Linked DNA regions of Homo sapiens: regions 2, 3, 4, 5, 6 and 7 are each linked to region 1. Evidence: promoter capture Hi-C in 16 types of primary human blood cells and fetal thymus (Javierre and others, 2016). All regions are on one chromosome and are shown on one strand. Each heading gives the region's core, a stretch centred on a gene start or on the middle of the fragment in contact. The rest is flanking DNA. Distances are from core to core; before and after follow the strand shown.

Region 1 (2,775 bases), core at 195-2,694:
CAAACAAAATTAACATTTTTTGAAGACTTACATGCCAAAACAATGCAAGTTGTTTTCATTTACGTTTAATATCCTAAAACAACCTGGTAAAATATTTTTAACTTGACTAAAAAATTAAAGATTTGAAAAAAAACAAAGTTGCTTAGAGGCAGCATGGTAAAATGGAATAGACAACAGGCTTTGCAATCAAAGATAATCAACATTTACTGAGGACTTTAGCAAATAAAATTAACATTTTTTGAGGACTTACATGCCAAAACAATGCTAGTTGTATTCACTTACGTTTAATATCCTAAAACAACCTGGCAAGATATTTTTAACCATTCTCAATTTTTCACAGAAGAGAAAAATCTAGGTTAAGCCACGTAATTTACAAAGCACTAGAATGCAAATCATGTGCCTGAGATTCAAAAGCTGTACCTTTGTTCATTACACCTGAACTCTTTCCCTCCAGATTTCAATAGTTACTTGATAGCTGTGTCAACTTGGATCAGTTACACAATTCCTTGAGCAGTTTTCTGCTCAAGTCTATTAAAAGAGGAAAAACCTCTAAGAAAAAAAAGATTGTGAAGATTAAAGATGCAAATCTCCTAGCACAACTGCTGGCATTTAAGAGGCACTCAACAAATTACAGAAACCTTTTCACCTGAGTGCCAGAGCCAGCGCTCTTTTAAAATTCGATTCGAGTTCTTGAAGACAGGGACCTTTTCTTGTTCATCCTTGTAACCCTTTGTGCCATGCCTGACAGGCACATGCCTTTTTTCCCTTCTTTTCCACTCCTAAATGTTAAAACATATACCTTATTCACTTCGTATCTCAGTAAGCTTTAATACCTGTAGAAACATATTGGTATTTTTACACTTGATAGACAAGTAGTAAGGAACGACGGCTGTCAAGATTTCCCTTTATACTTATTTCTATTTCTCTCGAGTGTGCGAATATTTGAGTTTTTGCAAAATATCAACTAACATCTTTACTTGACCTACCTCCTTATTCATAAAGCCTTCCTTAAGATAGTTTTCAACCTCAGGTCTCAAAGATATCTTAGGGAAAATAGACATTTTTCCTGTTGTTTAGTTCTCCACCAAGAGAAATGCTGGAAAACGGTGTTTTGTTTTTTTTTTTCTTTCCGAATTAATAGTGACGAGTGTCTTGACACCAGATGCTGAGGAAAATCTTGCCGATCACGCTGAGTTAATTTCGGAAATGCAGAGGTACACGCTTTCTCAAGCCTAGCCGATTAGAAGGGGCTGCCGGGCTTCCACCACACCTCATCGAGGCAATGTTTTCTGGTAGAGATGCTCATGGAAATCACTGAGCCAATGCCACTCACGTTGCAAAGAACCAAAAAAAGAAAAAAATGCTTAGTAACTGAATCCGTGGTGAAACGGACGCAGATCAGTAAGCCAGGCTGACAGCAGCTCGGTCCCTTTATCTTTTCTATCAATTTCCAAACACGCGCCCCCTATTTCTCGGCGGAAAGTCGCTTCCGGCTTACGTCACGTCCGGCGCCTGCGGCCCACCCCTCCCTTTCCGGTCCCCCAATCCACAGCCGCAAGTTTCCCCAACACTGCGTTACGCTACGCCACGCCCCCGGAGGTTCCTAACCCTGCGTGAGGCTCTTTCACCTGCCTCAGGTTAAGTAGGCAGACCCCGCGGGCGGGATGGTCAAAGATATTTAGTTCCCGGTACCGGAGGGCTAGGTGCCAGGGGCAATGGGGAAACAGCCAAATGGCGTGGGTTGAGTGGAAGATGTTGCTGGACTGAAAAAAGGCACAGCCCAGTTGCTGTCCTGCCAGATGTCCTCCAGTTAGAGGATGAGGCCAGAATTTGGGCGCATCAGCCACCGTTTGATTTCATGACATGATTTTACCTCTCTCAGGCATACAGATCTGACTTCAGTTGTGAAGTTCATAGGGTTCATATTTTTGAAAGTTGGGCTAATGGTCTGTTAATATCCAATGCTCAGGTAAAACTTAAAACCCACAGACAGTGTTTACAGTTAGTTATAAGGCTAACTGCTACTTGTATCATAGTTGACATATTCTTTAGAGTTTGGAAGACCCTCGCCATTATTTTTTTTTCTTTTTTTTCATCATAAGCAGACAAGGATATAGATTCAAAGAACGAGGATATCTAACCAAACTCACTGAGTCATTTTATAACTGTACAGGAAAGTCAAAATAATTCTATCACCTTGACATATGTTTTTTGCAGCACACCATGGTAATTTACACATAAGTATAGGAAAGGGTTTTTTATTGTTTTTTTCTCTTTAATTTTCACACCGAATTATACACACAGACACACACACATAGAACAGGTACTTTCCATGACACACCAACTCTTTACCAGAAAGAGTAGAAAATAATGAATGACCATTATACCACACAACAACCTGCAAGTTGTTTATCATTTTCTCTGCTCTTTTTTTTTTTTTTTTTTTGAGTCTCTGTCGCCCAGACTGGAGTGGAATGGTGGGATCTCGACTCACTGCAACCTCCACCTCCTGGTTCAAGAGATTCTCCTGCCTTGGCCTCCCGAGTAGCTAAAATTACAGGCATGTGCCACCAGGCCCAGCTAATCTTTGTAATTTTAATAGAGACGGGGTTTCACCATGCTGGCCAGGCTGGTCTCAAACTCCTGACTTCAACTGATCTGACTCTCTAGCCTCCCAAAGTGCTGGGATTACAGGCGTGAGCCACCACGCCCAGCCCATTTTCTCTGTTTTAAAGAGTAAATCAAGGTTCCTAGGGTTGAAACAACTCTCCATGT
Region 2 (2,775 bases), core at 168-2,667, 1.5 Mb before region 1:
TATATTTCCCTAATGACCAAAGATGTTGGGCATCTTTTTATGTATATTTGCCATTTGTTTATCTTCTTCGGTGAACTGTCTGTTTAGATATTTTGCCTATTTTTTAAAATTTTGTTGTTTGTCTTTTATTGATTGTAAGAGCTCATATATTCTAGATACAAGAATTTTCAAATACGTATTTTGCAAATATTTTTCTGCCAACCTGTGGCAAGTCATTTTGCTTGCTTAAAAATATTTTTCAAGGACAACAATAAGACACAAAAGACTACTTCCTAAGTGATTCTATATCACATGATTCCATATGAAAATCTAAAAAAGCCAAAACTACACTGATTGATAGACAACAAATCAGAGGCCAGGGGTTGGGGAGGAGATTGATCGCAAGGAGGCATGAGGGAATATTTAAGGGTGATGAAAATGTTCTGTATCATGATTGTGATTGTGGTTGCATGACTGTATAAATTTGTCAAAACTCATAAAGCTGTATAGTTAAAATAGATAATCTTTGGCAGATGTAAATTACAGCACAATAAAACTGATTAAAATTATTTCTCTTCTATATTTGTAAATGTCTTCATATATCAGGATGATACAAAATATTAATTTGGTATTAAACTAAATGCTAAGAAAAGATATCCAATAGCCTTTACATCAATAGAGATGAAATTTATCATAATAAATTTGTTTATTTGAAAGCTTAACAACTTGGCATGGGGTGGAGGGAAAGTTTGACAATATGAAATTTTTGGCAAGTTTAGAATAGGATAAAATAGTCTGGGCTAGAATCTTCCAATCAAAAGGATAATTCAAACTCTCTGAGCTCTGGACGTAACTATTTTCATGATTATACTTTCTTAAAGACCACTGAACTCAGCTAATCTTTCCAGTGCAATAGAAAAGGCCTCCAGCATGATCTTAATAAGGACTTCCTCTTTGACAGGATTTTCCTGTTTTGTTAATTAATGTGTTTATTACTCAACAAAGTAAAGATAATCTCTCAGCTCCCAATCTAAGCATTCAATTGCTCATTGTCACCCATGTTAGAAAAAAAAAAGAAAGTAACCGTCGTTCAAGGTCTGACTGACTTTTAGTGATGAGTTAGGGAATTTTACATCCAGCTCATTCACTCAACTCTAGCTCAGATCAATAGGCAAGTCAGACTGTCTGCATATGTTGACTCTGTGAAAAGCAATATAAAAATCAATTGCTGTTTCCAAGGGATTGGCACTCATTCTGTTTACTTACTCTATTCAGAAATACTTCAGGAAAGATGAATTAAAGTAGTTTTAGAATCTATGACCTTCAGATCTATATGGTAGATAACCTCTCTTCTTCTCCTCTCCCAAGGTAAACATTCTATAGACCTGAAATTCTATCTTTCATTGACTAGTAAAACTCCTGTCTCTTCCCTAATCTAGAATGCATTCCCCTAATATTCTGCATGTGCCCTTTACATATTAGCCATCTATAAGATGATAGGAACACGAAATGTAGTAAATTGCAGATTCTTCCCTCTGAAGCCTCCAGTCTAGGGAAGACCACATGGTTGAAGGTTAAGAACACGGGCCTGAAGCTCATTTATGTGCGTTCAAAGTCTGACTCCATCACTTACTGACCATGGAACCTTGTTTTTTCATCAGCAGACAGATAATAACAGCACTGAAGTTATGTAAAATGTTTAGCACATTAGGTTACTGGCACAAAATAAGTGTTCATTAAATATAAGCTGTTATCAATATCATGTAAAGAAATATAATAATCCTCACCCTCCTGTATCCTCTCTTGGGTTTAGATTCCTTAAAAGAAAAAATGACAAAAAGAATTCACAGCTGTCTTTATAATCTTGGGTACAAGGAGAAGCAAGGGTGTCTGATCATTTCTCCTATAAAAGAGGATTTCAGAGCAGAGAGATGAATTGGGGACTTTGAGTGAGGAAGACGATTGCTGACCTGGAGTTAAAGGTGTGAGGCAAAGGTAACTGATGTCTAAGAACAAGGCAAGGTGACTCCAGGAAGCACAGAACAACTCCACATTGGTGGGTGGAGAGCAAGATTCCATTTAAATCCAAGAGTTTTGAAGAGCAGGCAATCCAAAAGAAACGGTATCATCCTTGAGTGGAACTGAGTAACCAGGGTGAGGAAGCTTTTATATGGGGTGCTAGCAATGGAGCCCTCGGACAGGGAGGATCTGCTCTGGGGGCTGCTCAGTGTTTGGAGGAGGGCACCTAGTTGGAGAGTTTACCTAAGGAACCCTTATGCACATTTGTACGCATTCATTAAAATAAAACCCTTAGGGCCCGGCGCGGTGGCTCAAACCTGTAATCCCAGCACTTTGGGAGGCCGAGGCGGGTGGATCACGAGGTCAGGAGATGGAGACCATCCTGGCTAACACGGTGAAACCCCGTCTGTACTAAAAATACAAAAAATCAGCTGGGCGTGGTGGTGGGCGCCTGTAGTACCAGCTACTCAGGAGGCTGAGGCAGGAGAATGGCTTGAACCCGGGAAGCGGAGCTTGCAGTGAGCTGAGATCATGCCACTGCCCTCCAGCCTGGGTGACAGAGTGAGACTCTGTCTCAAAAAATAAAAATAAAATAAAATAATAAAAAATAAATAAAACCCTTAGGTCAGAACACTGATAACATTAATGGCATGTTGTAGACTTTAAGTTTATAATGGTGTCTGCTGTACTGTTGATTTCCACTCATCAGCCTTTACTCTCTTTGACTTCTTCAGCAAGACACATGCAAATGTATTTTGCATTGTTGCTGATACCATA
Region 3 (2,775 bases), core at 93-2,592, 1.5 Mb after region 1:
AGCATCTCTTTGTTTGGAGGTTTTTGATTACTGATTAAGTCTCTTTACTTGTTATTTTTTTTTTTTCAGATTTTCTATTCTGTTTTTTGTTCTGGTTTCTTTTATCCATATTTTCTATTCTATTTAGTGTTTCTGTACTGTTCTGTTCCGACGTGGTAATATGTATGTTTCCAGAAATTTATACACTGCTTCTAGGTTATCGAATTTGTTGGCATATAATTTTTATAGTAGTTTCTTCTGATATTTTATATTTATATGGTATCAATTGTAATCTCTTCTTTCACTTATAATTTTTTTTCTTTTTTGAGACAGAGTTTCACTCTTGTTGCCCAGGCTGGAGTGCAATGGTGCAATCTCAGTGCACTGCAACCTCCGCCTCCTGAGTTCGAGCAATTCTCCTGTCTCAGCCTCCCGAGTAGCTGGAATTATGGGCACATGCCACCATGCCCAGCTAATTTTTGTATTTTTAATAGAGACAGGGTTTCATCATATTGGTCAGGCTGGTCTTGAACTCCTGACCTCAGGTGATCCACCTGCCTCAGCCTCCCAAAGTGCTGGGATTACAGGCGTGAGCCACTGCACCCGGCCACTTACAGTTTTATTATTCTATTTTTTCTTAGTTTAACTAAAAGTTACTCTTTTGTTTATTTAGAAAAAAAACCCAACTCCTAGTTTCATTAATCTTTTGTATTGTTTTTTCTAGTCCCTATATCATTCATATATATTCTGATCTTTTTTATTTCCTTCCTTCTGCTAACTCTTTATTATATCCTTTCTTAAGCTTAGTTTGTTCTTGTTTCCTTGTTCCTTGAGGTGTCATATTAGGTTGCTTTTATGAAATCTTTCTTTTTTCTTCATGTAGGCATTTATTGCTATAAACTTACCCCTTAGGGCTGCTGTTGCTGCATCCCATAAAATTTGGAAAGTTATATTTGCATTTTTGTTTGTCTCAAGATATCTTTTAAGATCACTATTGATTTCTTCTTTGACTCATTGGTTGTTCAGAACTATGTTATTTAATTTTCACATATTTGCAAATGCTTCCAATTTTCCTCCTCTTATTGATTTCTAATTTCATTTCATCGTGGTCTGAAAAGATACTTGGTATTACTTAAATCTTCTTAAATCTGTGAAGACTTTTATTTGACCTAACGTGGATCTATCCTAACAAATATTCCATGTGCATTTGTAAAGAATGTATATTCTGCTGCTGTTGGATGAAACGTTCTATATATCTCTGTTAAATTCATTTGGTCTTCAGTCTTGTTCGTGTCTTCTGTATACTTATGGATTGTTTTTGTCTGGATGACCTATCCACTGCTGAAGGTGGCAATATTGAAGTCCTCTACTATTATTGTATTGGTGAACTATTTCTCCTTTTAGCTCTCTTAATATTTGCTTTATATATTTATGTTCTTAATATTGAGGGCATAACTATTTACAATTTTATGTCCTTTTGATGAATTGATATCTTTATCATTGTCTCTTGTGGCAGTTTTTGATTTAACATCTCTTTTGTCTGATATAGTTACGGCTACTCCTGCTCTCTTTTGGACTATTTTTGCAGGGACTATCTTTTTCCATCCTTTCACTTTCAGCATATGAGTGTCCTTAAAGCTAAGGTTAAGTCTTTTGTAAAGAACATATAGTTTGATCTTTAAAAAAAAAAAATCCATTCAACCACTATATGTCTTTTGATTGAAGAATGTAATCCATACATTTAAAGTAATTATTTACAGGTAAAGATTTACTATTGCCATTTTATTGTTTTCTATTTTATAGCCCTTTTCTTCTTTTCTTCCTCTCTTGTTGCCTTCTTTTTGATTTGATAATTTTTTGTCGTGATTTGCTTTAACTTCTTTATCTTTATGTCTACCATCAATTTTTCCTTCGTGGTTACCACTAAGCTTACATAAGACATCTTCAAGTCATAGCATATGTTTTAAACTGATAACAATGTAACTTCCTCCACATACAAAAACTACACTTTAACTTGTCTTCTCATATTTTTTGTAGATGACTTCACAATTTTATCTTTTTTATTATGTATTCATTAATAAATTATTATAGCTATATTTCCAATACCTTTGTCTTTAAACTTTTATACTAGAGTTAAAAGTGAGTTGTGGAGCACTATTGGAATATAAGAATAGCTGAGTGTGATTGCATTCTGACCTTTACAGTGAGTTTAATTCTTTCATATATTTTCGCGTTGTTAGTTTCTATCATTTCATTTCAACTTAAAGGTTCTCTTTACCATTTCTTGTGAGGTAGTCCTAATGGTGATGAACTCCCTCATCTTTTGTTTGTCTGGGAAATTCTGTCTCTCTTTTTCATTGTAAAAGTCAACTTGGCTAGTTATAGTATTCTTGGTCATTGCTGGTTTACTTTCAACACTTTGAATTTATTATTTGTCTCTCTTTTGCCCTATAAGGTTCCTGCTGAGAAACACCCTGGTAGCCTTACAGACCTTCCCTTTCATGTCATGAGTAGATTTTTGTCTTGCTGCTCTCAAATTTCTCGCTATGTCTTTGACTTCAGAGAATTTGTTAATAACATGTTTTTGTGATGATCTCTTTATGTCTAAACTACTTGGGATTCTTTGGGCGTCATGGATCTGAACGTTCATTTCTCTCTCCAGATTTGGGAAGTTTTCTGTTATTGTTTATGCATAATAAGCTTTTGCCTTTTCTCTTTCTCTGCTTCTTCTGGAACTCCCATAATGAATATATTGGTTCACTTAATGATGTCTCATAATTCCTGTAGGCTTTCTTT
Region 4 (2,775 bases), core at 198-2,697, 1.5 Mb before region 1:
CTAGAACCTCCAGAAGGAATGCAGCCCTGTTGATAACTTGATTTTAAGACTTCTGACCTCCAGAATTATAAGATAATAAACCTGTGTTGCTTTAAGCTACTAAGTTTATGTTTGTTACAACAGCAATAGGAAACTCATACATAGATAATAATTAGAGATGTAAAGAAAATATTTATATATAGGATAAGTGATGCTATTTTATTTATAATAGTGCAAATTTATGAATGATCTGAATGTCCCAGAATAGATGATTAATTCGAACAAATACTGTACTTTCATAAAGTGGAGTATGATACAACCATTAAAAGTTTATAAATTCTACATTTAATGGCAAGCGAAAATATTCAAGATATTCTAAGTAAAGAAAGAAAGCTATAATTTATTTTAATGTTCATGGTCACATTAGAATAAAGATTTTAATCTAAGCCTTCACCAGTGTTTATGTCTTCACCAGTGTTATGTCAGTGTTTATGCATTAGCATCATTGGTGAGTTTTTTAAATTTTCTTCTCTATTTGTGTAGCATTGGTATTGCCCAGTAGAGCAAAATCTCTGGAAAAAGGAACATGACTGTCTCGTTCAATGCTGTATCCTCACCATACAACACAGTAAGCAACAAAGAAAAATCACTCCATAGTTATGTACTGAATAAATGAATATTTTCAGTGTGTCCCAATTTTTTAACAAATGTATTACTAATATTGCTAAAAATAAAAAACAAGAAATGCACATAATAATAATTTTTAAATATTCAACTTCACTAGTAATCAAAAATTAAGATAACAATTTCACCTAGTAAATTATATGGGTTAACATATTATATTGGCATATTTATGGTCACAGAGACGTTACTGAATATAAACTAGTATGTCCTTTTAAAAAAATAATTTGACAATCATCAACAACCTTTAAAATGTTCATGTACTATAGCTTATTCATTAATTCTACAAATATTTGTTGAGCATCCAACATACAATGGTGCTTTTAGATCCAAGGATACAGTGGTGAACAAAATAGAACAAAATGCAACAAAAAAATCCCACCCTCAAGGAGCTTACATTCTAGAAGAGGAGGCAGTCAATTTTAAAGATAAACAAGTACAATACAAAATATGATAGGCAGTAATAAGTGTTAAAGTGAAAAACAAAACAGGCCAGAGGATAGGGAGGCAGGGCAGAGGATACAAGTTTTGGTACTGAGAACAGTTCACTGTGCATCTTTCCTGACCTTTTTCTGTGTCTAAACACAAATACATTACACACATACCCACTGTATGTGCCCAAACATAAGACAACTAGAATAAACGTTAATCCCCTATTTTCCCCATGAAAATATCCAAAATTAGATTTCTGGCCATTTTCATTATATAAATGTTTAAGGATGTAGCCAAAATAGTCAAATGACTTCATATTGTATAATTTATAATTTAAACATACTTTATTTTTTATATTCAGTTTAATTACTATTTTTACATTAAAATTAAGTTCTACATTAGTAAACTTAATTTTACTAATGTTTTACATTAGTAAAACAAACTCTGTTTTTTGAACTTTTTTTTAACTGGCATGAAGAATTACAGCTCTTAGGTGTTAACATGGGAAGGGAAAAGGGTATTTATCCCATTTAACAGGTCTGGCTAGCTTGTATTCAATAAATATGTGCTTGAAGAAGCCATCTGAGGTAATCTTTAGGATCTGTTATGAATTTATAAAGATATAATTCCAGGTAATATCTTTAAAAAATAGAGAAAGGATTTATCCCCTGACTACTGAACGGGACAATGCTTATGAAAACCTTTTACCAACCCTGTCAAGTGTTTATTCATGCTCTGCAAAATATTTTCAGCAAGTATTTCCTGTGAGTTTATAACCAGGTTCATTTATGAATTCAAGACATATTTATTGAGCATGACTGACGCTGGCGCTGGCTCTGGCTCCAGGCAGAGATGATAAAACAACGAATCCCTGCTCCCACAGAGCTTCACACAAGGAGAAGCCTCCAACATATTTTATACAGCACTATCTTAGCATGTTCATTTGGAAATATTGTATATTTTCTACTCAAAGTTCATGAAATGATTTTATTCTACTTTCTCATGTGCCTCTTTGAAATCAGGGTCACTATCATCAACAGAGCCACCTTTTAAATCATCTAACAGTGTTCAAGGACACACCAACTTTCCTTCAGTCAGAGTTACTTGAGAACTAGCCCTTTTTGAGTTCGTGTATAATGATGTCACTGGAAATTTTATGCCCACCACAAATACCCAGTAGCTATTTGTGATTTCCGCGAAGTAATCACCTACTGTATTGCTTTATAAAGTAATTTTCAAAAGGCTTGTTTACAATAACATCCAACACTTGTAATTGTGAGGTCATCCTCCTAAAAATTACTTCTAGATCTTTAAATTCATTTCTATGGTTTCTGGCCAATTCCATTGAGTGACCTCAATAAGCATCTAGAAATGATATTAAGTTTCTTCAGGCTAATGTAGTTTATCCAAGCAGTACTTTATTGATTTGCTATTTTTGAAAAGTTTAGTAATTGAGTAATATGAAGAGATTTCCTTTCAGAAGACTAAATTATAAGGCCATACTCTCTTTCTGAAGTATAATTTTTCAGGTAAAATGAATATCTCATATAGAAGAATTTATGCCAAACATGTCTATAAGAGTGTATGTATATATATTTGTATTTTGTTTTTGTTCTTAGTTAAAATACTGGGATCACAAGCGTTTTGAATTTACAGTCATGAAGGAAATGCAAAAGATGATGT
Region 5 (2,775 bases), core at 176-2,675, 1.4 Mb before region 1:
AGTGACTTCTGACTGTGAATAATGTTATCTTACACTTATCTCAGAAGGAATAAAAAGAAAACATGTTTTTAAAAATTAGGATCATGAATCATGAATAAAGTTAATTATACATTTTCTGCCAAATAAAATAGAAACCATGCCGTTTGCCTCATACTTTACCATTTCAAACTACTCATAGATTTTTAACATGGATTTTGCTCTTGGAGGCTCATTCTGAAATTCTCAATTTAAAAATATTTTGCAGCAAATTTAAAAGATGATGTTTCAAAGTAAATATAGTGGGATCCATTCTTTAAAACTGCTTTCTTAACTTCACAGAAAATTAGAACTAGAAAGTATCTTAAGGACTATTTGATACACTGTTTTTTAAACTATTTTTAGAGATAAAGCCTTTTGTTCAAACCAAATCTCCTCTGGAATGGGGAGCAAAGATAGAGAGGTAGAGCAACAGCTACACTGTAACTTAGTATAAAAGATACTAAGTAGACTCAGTTGGTCCTGCCTGCTGCCCCTCTACACCCAGGCAAGGCCAGGGATCTAAACCAAAGCAATCATAGGAGCCACAATATGTCACTTCCTGAGAGCAGGCTGACCTGAGGACTGAGGGGAACTTCAGAGATCTATGAAGCAAACTTGATCTGATATGGTAATGCATGCTATAAAAGCCAGACAAAAATGTTAACATAGCTGCACAAAATAGAGACTATCTCAGAAACTAATGTTTAACATTGATAACAGATCCCCTGCCCAATCACTCCTGCAAAGACAGCTTGATACAGGACAAAGAATATGGTCCTTAGAACTAGATGGATTACCATGGATCCTGCCTCAAATACTCCCTTTCTTCACATATTAAACGGGAAATATTTGATAACAAGGTAACTGTGTGTGTATATATATATCATGTGTAAATAATTGTACACATATCAATTATATATGTGTACATATCAATATATACATATATCATTTATATGTGTACATACCTATATATACAATGTGTGTATATAGACAATGTATATATGTACATTTCAATATAAACACAATGTATATAAGTGTGTATATATGTATATATATCAGTATATACATATGTACACACACACACTGATAGATATATATCAATAATGTGCCTAGAACAATAAATACTGGTTTCCTTTCACTTTCTGAACAACTTTGTCATAATATAGAACCCATTTCTTCTAACAATAGGGAGAATTATTTTCCTAGTATGTTTTCATAAAGGGTATACTACCAAGAGATTAATTTGCATATTGCCTAACAAGATGTCTTTCTGTATTGTTTTCTATTATAGCCTTCAATCTTTTCAGGTGGAAAAACACGACCCATGTTGAGAATATAGGAGACAGAATTTAGTACCTTGGAGAGCTGTTAGTACTTTGCTCCTTTTCTCTTGTAATTTATCTGAACATTTAGAACTGCTCAAGGTAACCAAAGAACACAAATCAGACCTACTCACACCAGGAAAGGGAAAACACACATACACATACACACATACACAGGCACACACTCCTTCATAGTCTTTTTTCTGCATTGCTACATCATCAGAACTGATAAACTAAAACCCAGAAAAAATTCAAAGACAAAGACTTTTAATTTTACCCTACTTAGGTACTAGTTTAGGTAGACAACAGTATCACTTAGAATTGTTCTCATATGATCCAATAATGACAAATATAACTAAAATGTAATAACACTTTCATAGTACTGCCATGACTGTATCTATTCACTCTGTAAGAAAAAAACTTCCTATTATTTAAAATTATTAAAACGTTTCTTGTCAGTTTCAAGTCACTTACGTGAGCATATTACAACATACAAGCACATTTCATTTTTCAAACTTTCTCCTCTAGCCTCATGCTCTAGAGGCTGTCAACCTTTACTTTACAGAGTTAAACTTATTCCTGCAGATCAAGACTAAAATGTTTTATTTCCATCTAAGGTAATTACTGCTAAGTTAAAATGTATAAATCCTCCAATGGGATTGGTACTATGTTTAGTCACTCAGAGAATACTGGCTGATGAAAATAGACCACATTCCAAAAGACAGAAAAAGTATGTTTGACTAATAGGAAAATAATAATAACACAATAATGACTTGTATGTTTCAAATAACTTTATAAATGTTTAAAATGCTTATTAACCCATTTTAGACCTATCGGCTTTTCTTTCTTAATATTCACTTTTTTACAAATAAAAAGTAGAAAACTTCATGTCATTTGCTCAAAGTCACATAAGTTAACATTCTGCAGGTTAACAGATTTATTTGCAAATCACACAAACATATTTTTAAAAGAAGGGAATTTAGACGATAACACTAGTTTTTTGAGGAAAAAATAGGCTGGAACTCATCAAATAAAAATGAAAGGGAGTTAGTATATATTTGAGGAAGGATTTCATATTAGGAGTTAGACAGGATTCTGGTTAGGAAAGAATGTCAGGAATCTGCATGTCTTTTTTTTTTTTTCTCCTTTCATTTTAGGACCAAATCCTAGAATAGAGTGAAAAAAGAATGCAACAAACAGCATTATTTATATATCTTTGCACAGTTTTAAAATCAAAAAGCAGTTTTATCGTGTTACTTGTTCCCTCGAGAGATGAGGCATTATTATTTGGAAAATAAATTTTTGATTATCACCTAAAGTGAAAGGGACTTAATAAACAAACATTGGAAAAGCCCAAAGTACTGAAAGCTCAATATAACTGCAAGAGTCTCTCTTCTGACCATTTTTTCTCTTTTTTGCTAATAGTAAAATAGGC
Region 6 (2,775 bases), core at 98-2,597, 1.4 Mb after region 1:
ACAGATTTCATAAGAAAGCTGTTTAAATTTTAGCTCTATTTTATTTCATTTGCTACGTAAAAGATTAAAATGTTTATTAAGTAATACCTGTACATATCTGAAAAACTAATAACGTGGACATTTAACAAGTCAAACAGGCAAAAGTAAAATGTAAATCTCCCTTCTTCCTTTGTCTCTTAGTTCACCAGTTTCCCTCCCAAAAAAAAATACCTTACTTTTTGAGGTATGGTATATTAAAATTCAAACTTAGAGTAGTTTCCTATATCTGGCCAATAATCATTAGCTTTTTTTCTGTTTAAATTCCCACTAAGAGAGATTTTTTAAAAATATTAATGCATTTTATCTTCATTAGCTTTTCAGGAAATATATTACCAAATCTCCCTGCTCCTTTTTTGTTCTGGCTTTCAAATGGTAATATTTTAATTGTAGTCCCAAATAATATTTCATACTCTTTATAGGGACTTGATTAATAACAGGAATAAAAGGCTTTTTAGGAGAGGAAGATAGTTATTACTCATGATGATTGATTTGTAAATACCAACAACATCTTCTTTCAAGTGTATAACCCCATAAAACAAAGCATGGTGTATCCATTAACTTTCTGCATCTAGGGAGAAGGTGAATGGAGTTGTTTTGTATTATTATTATTATTAACAGAGATCACAGGTTATGGTAATCTGGAGATCTATGTGTTATGGAAGATACTAAAGAGATAGATGCTGGATGAAAGTAAATTCATTCCAACTTGCTTCAATGATTTAAAGTTACAAACTCAAGTCTCAAGGATTCCTAGAGAGAAAGATGAATTGCGTGATGTCTGATCTGCTGAATCTGAATAATTCTCTGAGATAGACCTCCAAAAACCTGAGAGTTCATCTGAGCTGTCTTCTTTGATAACTTACTCCTCCCTCAAACTGTCTAGTGTCAGCAGTAGATTCAGTAGCTTGACCATTATTATATATTTATTTCTTTATTTTGTAGACAGGATCTCACTCTGTCACCCAAGCTGGAGTGCAGTGGCACAATCACAGCTCACTGCAGCCTTGACCTCCTAGGCTCAAGTGATCCTCCCACTTCAGCTCCCCAAATAGCTGGGACTACAGGCATGCACCACCATGCCTGGCCAATTTTTAGATTTTTTTGTAGAGATGGAGTCTCATTATGTTGTCCAGGCTGATCTCAAACTCCTAGCCTCTAGCAATCCTCCCATCTCAGCCTCCAAAAGTGCTGGGATTACAGGTGTGAGACACTGCGCCAAGCTATGTTGTTTTGTCTTTCACGAATTTCATATTCACAACCACTTGTTTCTCCTGCATGTCTGTCCATACATGCTTTATTTCATTAGCACTGGCTCCTTGTGGCAGGGGTGGGAAGCATAATTGGAAATTAAGCCAGTAGGAGACCCAGAGAGAAAGCACCCAGGAGCAAGAGTTGACTCAATAGGAATCAGCAAGAAAAATACAAGAGACAGAAATATGGGTAGAATGAAGGAGAACAATTAGATGTAAACAAAACTGAGCAGAGCATTGGCACATGATGGATAAGTCATGATTTTAGGACAGGAATGGGGGAAGGTGGATCAGCTGAGACAAGGGTGTGGGTGAAAAACATGGTCTCCAGGCTCATCCCCTTCCATTGCCATAACAGCCACTGAAGTGTCCACTGATTGCTAGTGCTAGAATACTCCCTTACGGATGTTTATACCAGGAAAGCATCATTCATCTTCTTCCAGCACATCCAGGCTTTATTGGAAACACTGGCAATGATATTTTTGCTTGTAGCCTTTCCTAGTCACTGCAGCAGTAATTCAGATAAATAGCAATTTTACACAGATCCTGAAATACATCACCCAATTGAAAATAAAGGGTGTCTAAGTGACTCTGTGCAATTAATAAAGTAACAATATATGCCAGATGCTCTAACATTGTCGAATCCTGGAAAGTAAAGGAAAGAAATAGTAAATAGTGCAGGACTGACATTAGACCCTGGCCATTTCAGAAATGAGTTCAAAAGAGTTCCCTCAATTCCTACTTAAGCCAGAAATTGAGTTGCATTTTCTTAGAGAAGAAGTTAGGCTTCCAGGTTAAGATAAATAGACTTTTGAATCTGAATACTTCAGTTCATAAGCCAAGGCAATCGTAACTGTATGATCTTCAGCAAATGACTTAATCTCTCTGATGTCAGTTTCCTTGCCTATAAAATAGCACAATAAAAATACCTGGTGCATAAATTTGTTGTGATGACTAAATTAATTAACATATGTTAATGATACCTGTTTCATAGAAAATGCTACATAGATAGCATATGCTAATACTGCATTTTTCCCCCACTTACATTTCCTCCTTTATTTCTTTTCAAAGTGCTTTCTCTTTAAGTCCTGTGCTGCCTTTTTAGTTTGTCTGTTGTTTCCTTTGATGACCTCATTCATTAGATTTCTCTCCATAAAGCATAGAAGGGGTCTCAAGGAGTGTTTAGGAACCTAATCCATTGTCATCTCTAACTGCTCCTATTAAAGGCTGGCTCAACCACTGATGTCTGGGAAGTAGAATAGCATGTAAATAACTTGGGATGTCCGCTTGATCACCATGGCTATACCTATCATTTTTTGGTGCTGTTCAGAATCTCTCTAAAGACTGTCCCATGATGACATTTTGGGACTCTGGGACACTGTCTGGAAACCTTACAAAATTTAGCAATTTTGTAACACACGATAGAATCTCGAAATATTTCTCTAATTGTGACAGCATGGTTTATAACTGGGTAACAAGCATTATA
Region 7 (2,775 bases), core at 88-2,587, 1.4 Mb before region 1:
TACGCTTTAGTAGAAAGCTACAGTCTTTACCTAAGCTAACTCGGATGATACTCCAAGTGAGCTATCCTTCCTGCTTACTTCTGCCTTTTTTTCTTCAAAGGGCAATCCTTTTTGAATTGGCATTTAGCATGGTAGTATTAGGTTGGGGGAAAAAATCGTGTTTTTTTGCCATTAAAAGTAATAGCAATAACTTTCGCCCCAACGTAATAGTTGCTTCATTCCTGGAGAGTGGGATCTGCTTGGTTTACCAGCCAGAGGGCTTGACAAAATCTGACTTTAGTGTCTTCGAATGTCCTTTTCTAACATCTGCACAGAAATATCTTCATGGGAGAAAATCATCTTTTTCATTAAAAAATGTCAGTGTGGGAGTATGGGGAGAGGAAATAGGGAGAGAAAGAGAAGGAAAGAGGCGCACACATACAGAGACAGAGAGAGACAGGGAGAGAGAGAGGGCAAGAGAGTACTGCCTTGGGGTCACTAACACCCTTGAAGATATCTCAGAAGATTGTTCCAACCAAGTAAAAATGTAGACAAAAAGTCGCCGCTCCTTCTTCAGACACAACGGATCTTGTGAAGAGCCTGGTAGGGCAAAAACTTGAGAGGCCATTGTGGTGTCCAAAGAAATACTGACATCTACTGGTGGGTTCGGAAGTCACAGGACTTTTCCAAGGGCCACATTTAGTTGCACGGAATTGAAAGTATTAAAATCCAGTGGATACAATTAGGCATTCCTGAGGATCCCTTCTAAATAAATTTTTAAAATTAACTTATGACCATCAAGAGCATTTCTGAATTGTCTGTTCTTTAATCCACCAGATAGATAATCATTGACTTAGTCTCTGTACCTGAAATATTTCACACAGTCCAGGGAAGAGTAAAATGAACAAAATTCCTTTCTCTTTATGACCCCAGGACCTACCTCATCAAAAACGGTGCTTTGAAAAACAGCAAGAAGAATGGGAAGCAATATTGCTCAGTCAGAAGATAAACCTGTGTTCACATCCAGGAACTTTCATTTATTGGCTGTGTAATTTCTACCAAGTTACTTTGTCTCCCAAATCTCATTCTTTCTCAGCTGGAAATGAGAATTGAGGATACCTGCCCTGAATGACTCTGTCAGTAATTAGAGACCACGAACTCAAAGTGCCTGTGGTTCACATTACACACTGAGTAATTGCCGGGCGCGGTGGCTCACACCTGTAATCCTAGCACTTTGGGAGGCCGAGGCGGGTGGATCACCTGAGGTCAGGTAGTCGAGACAAGCCTGACCAACATGGTGAAACCCCATCTCTACTAAAAATACAAAAATTAGCTGGGTGTGGTGGCATGCACCTGTAGCCCCAGCTACTCAGGAGGCTGGGGCAGGAGAATTGCTTGAACCTGGGAAGTGGAGGTTGCAGTGAGCTGAGATGGCACTACTGCACTCCAGTCTGGGCGACAAAGCAACGCTCCATCTCAAAAAAAAAACAAAAACAAACAAATAAAAGAAACAAAAAAACTCAGTAATGGGATTGTTGTTACATTTAAAGGATAGAAACATCCTGGGACCACTTGCTTCTTGATTGACCAAGCTGTGATTTAGGAGAGTACTTCTCAAACTTTAATTTGCACTCGACTCACTAGGGAATCTTGTTAAAATGAAGGTTCTGTTTCAGCTGCCAAGGGCGGGGCCTGAGATACTGCATCTCCAGCAAGCTCCCAAGAGATATTGATATGCTGGCCTGGGACAGCACTGAGTAGCAAGAATCTGTGGGGTCCAATCCCCACTAGAGGTCAAGAGCATTGAGGTGGCCCCTGTCAATTGGCTTCCTATGTGAGGGGAAATAGCTCTCAAAATTTCAGTTGTTTCAAAGTATAAACAAAGTGTACATAAGAAAATTGCCAGGAAAGATGGGTTTGCCTAATGTAGAAACACTAAAAATTGGCCGGGTACAGTGGCTCACACCTGTAATCCCAGCACTTTGGGAAGCCAAGGTGGGTGGATCACCTGAGGTCAGGAGTTCAAGACCATCCTGGCCAACATGGCGAAACCCCATCTCTATTAAAAATACAAAAAAACATTAGCTAGGCATGGTGGCACGTGCCTGTAGTCCCAGCTACTCGGGAAGCTGAGGCAGGAGAATCGCTTCAACCCGGGAGGTGGAAGTTGCACTTAGCCGAGATTGCACCACGGCACTCCAGCCTGGGCAACAGAGCAAGAGACTCTCTCTCCAAATAAATAAATAAATAAATACTAAAAATTTACTTCACACCCATTCCCAATATACAGATTCTACTTATCATGATAGAGAAGAGGTGTTTGGGTTCTGAATCAGAAATGCCCCCATAGGTTAGACATGGTAGGTCACACCTGCAATCCTAGCACTTTGGGGGGCTGAAGTGGGAAGATTACTCGAGCCCTGGAGTTTGAGACCAGGCTAGTCAATGTAGCGAGATCCTATCTCTACAAAAATTTTAAAATTAGCCAGGTGTGGTGGTGCATGCCTGTAGTCCCAGCTACTCAGGAGGCTGAGGTGGGAGGATCGCCTGAGCCCAGAAGTTCATGGTTGCTCCAGCTAGGGTGACAGAATGAAATCCCAGTAGTTAATTTATTCTGTTTCAGCTTTAGGCTTTCTGTAGAATCTGGCAATGGCAAGCAATTAAGCTAAGGGGATCTGGAGTCACAGGTGAATTTGCATCCTGACTCGGTAACTTGCCATCTGCCAGGTCATAGACAACTTCCTTAACTTTTCTAGGCCTCAGATTTCTCAGAGTATATTGTGAATATTGTGAACA

Evidence for each region. Contacts are between HindIII fragments. The CHiCAGO score rates a contact against its expected background, and 5 or more counts as called.
Region 2: a fragment that was not itself captured here is called in contact with the fragment with the promoter of NSUN6 in region 1 in 1 of 17 cell types (activated CD4 T cells); the score reaches 7.3 in activated CD4 T cells.
Region 3: a contact is called between a fragment that was not itself captured here and the fragment with the promoter of NSUN6 in region 1, in 1 of 17 cell types (monocytes). The highest score is 6.3, in monocytes.
Region 4: a fragment that was not itself captured here is called in contact with the fragment with the promoter of NSUN6 in region 1 in 4 of 17 cell types (total B cells, total CD8 T cells, non-activated CD4 T cells and 1 more); the score reaches 8.6 in total B cells.
Region 5: a contact is called between a fragment that was not itself captured here and the fragment with the promoter of NSUN6 in region 1, in 7 of 17 cell types (total CD4 T cells, total CD8 T cells, non-activated CD4 T cells and 4 more). The highest score is 12.3, in total CD4 T cells.
Region 6: a contact is called between a fragment that was not itself captured here and the fragment with the promoter of NSUN6 in region 1, in 1 of 17 cell types (monocytes). The highest score is 6.3, in monocytes.
Region 7: a fragment that was not itself captured here is called in contact with the fragment with the promoter of NSUN6 in region 1 in 1 of 17 cell types (non-activated CD4 T cells); the score reaches 5.5 in non-activated CD4 T cells.

What each region holds. Positions count from the first base shown.
Region 1 is chr10:18,650,143-18,652,917 of GRCh38, forward strand. It overlaps NSUN6 (NOP2/Sun RNA methyltransferase 6), which reads right to left and starts at 1,445. Exons shown (of 11, transcript NM_182543.5): 1 at 987-1,445. The coding sequence starts at 1,061. RefSeq lists an enhancer at 1,585-1,684. The HindIII fragment of the contact is 3,002 bases long and covers 823-2,775 here.
Region 2 is chr10:17,131,676-17,134,450 of GRCh38, forward strand. No RefSeq gene overlaps it. Among named protein-coding and RNA genes, the nearest start is that of CUBN, 3.3 kb to the left of the region's middle. The HindIII fragment of the contact is 1,446 bases long and covers 695-2,140 here.
Region 3 is chr10:20,131,112-20,133,886 of GRCh38, forward strand. All of the region lies in intron 4 of PLXDC2 (plexin domain containing 2), which reads left to right. Among named protein-coding and RNA genes, the nearest start is that of PLXDC2, 320 kb to the left of the region's middle. The HindIII fragment of the contact is 1,126 bases long and covers 780-1,905 here.
Region 4 is chr10:17,186,547-17,189,321 of GRCh38, forward strand. All of the region lies in intron 1 of TRDMT1 (tRNA aspartic acid methyltransferase 1), which reads right to left. Among named protein-coding and RNA genes, the nearest start is that of TRDMT1, 14 kb to the right of the region's middle. The HindIII fragment of the contact is 6,870 bases long and covers 1-2,775 here.
Region 5 is chr10:17,208,122-17,210,896 of GRCh38, forward strand. No RefSeq gene overlaps it. Among named protein-coding and RNA genes, the nearest start is that of TRDMT1, 7.8 kb to the left of the region's middle. The HindIII fragment of the contact is 6,585 bases long and covers 1-2,775 here.
Region 6 is chr10:20,074,229-20,077,003 of GRCh38, forward strand. The region is part of intron 4 of PLXDC2 (plexin domain containing 2); the gene reads left to right. Among named protein-coding and RNA genes, the nearest start is that of PLXDC2, 260 kb to the left of the region's middle. The HindIII fragment of the contact is 4,019 bases long and covers 1-2,775 here.
Region 7 is chr10:17,257,259-17,260,033 of GRCh38, forward strand. No RefSeq gene overlaps it. Among named protein-coding and RNA genes, the nearest start is that of VIM-AS1, 29 kb to the left of the region's middle. The HindIII fragment of the contact is 8,535 bases long and covers 1-2,775 here.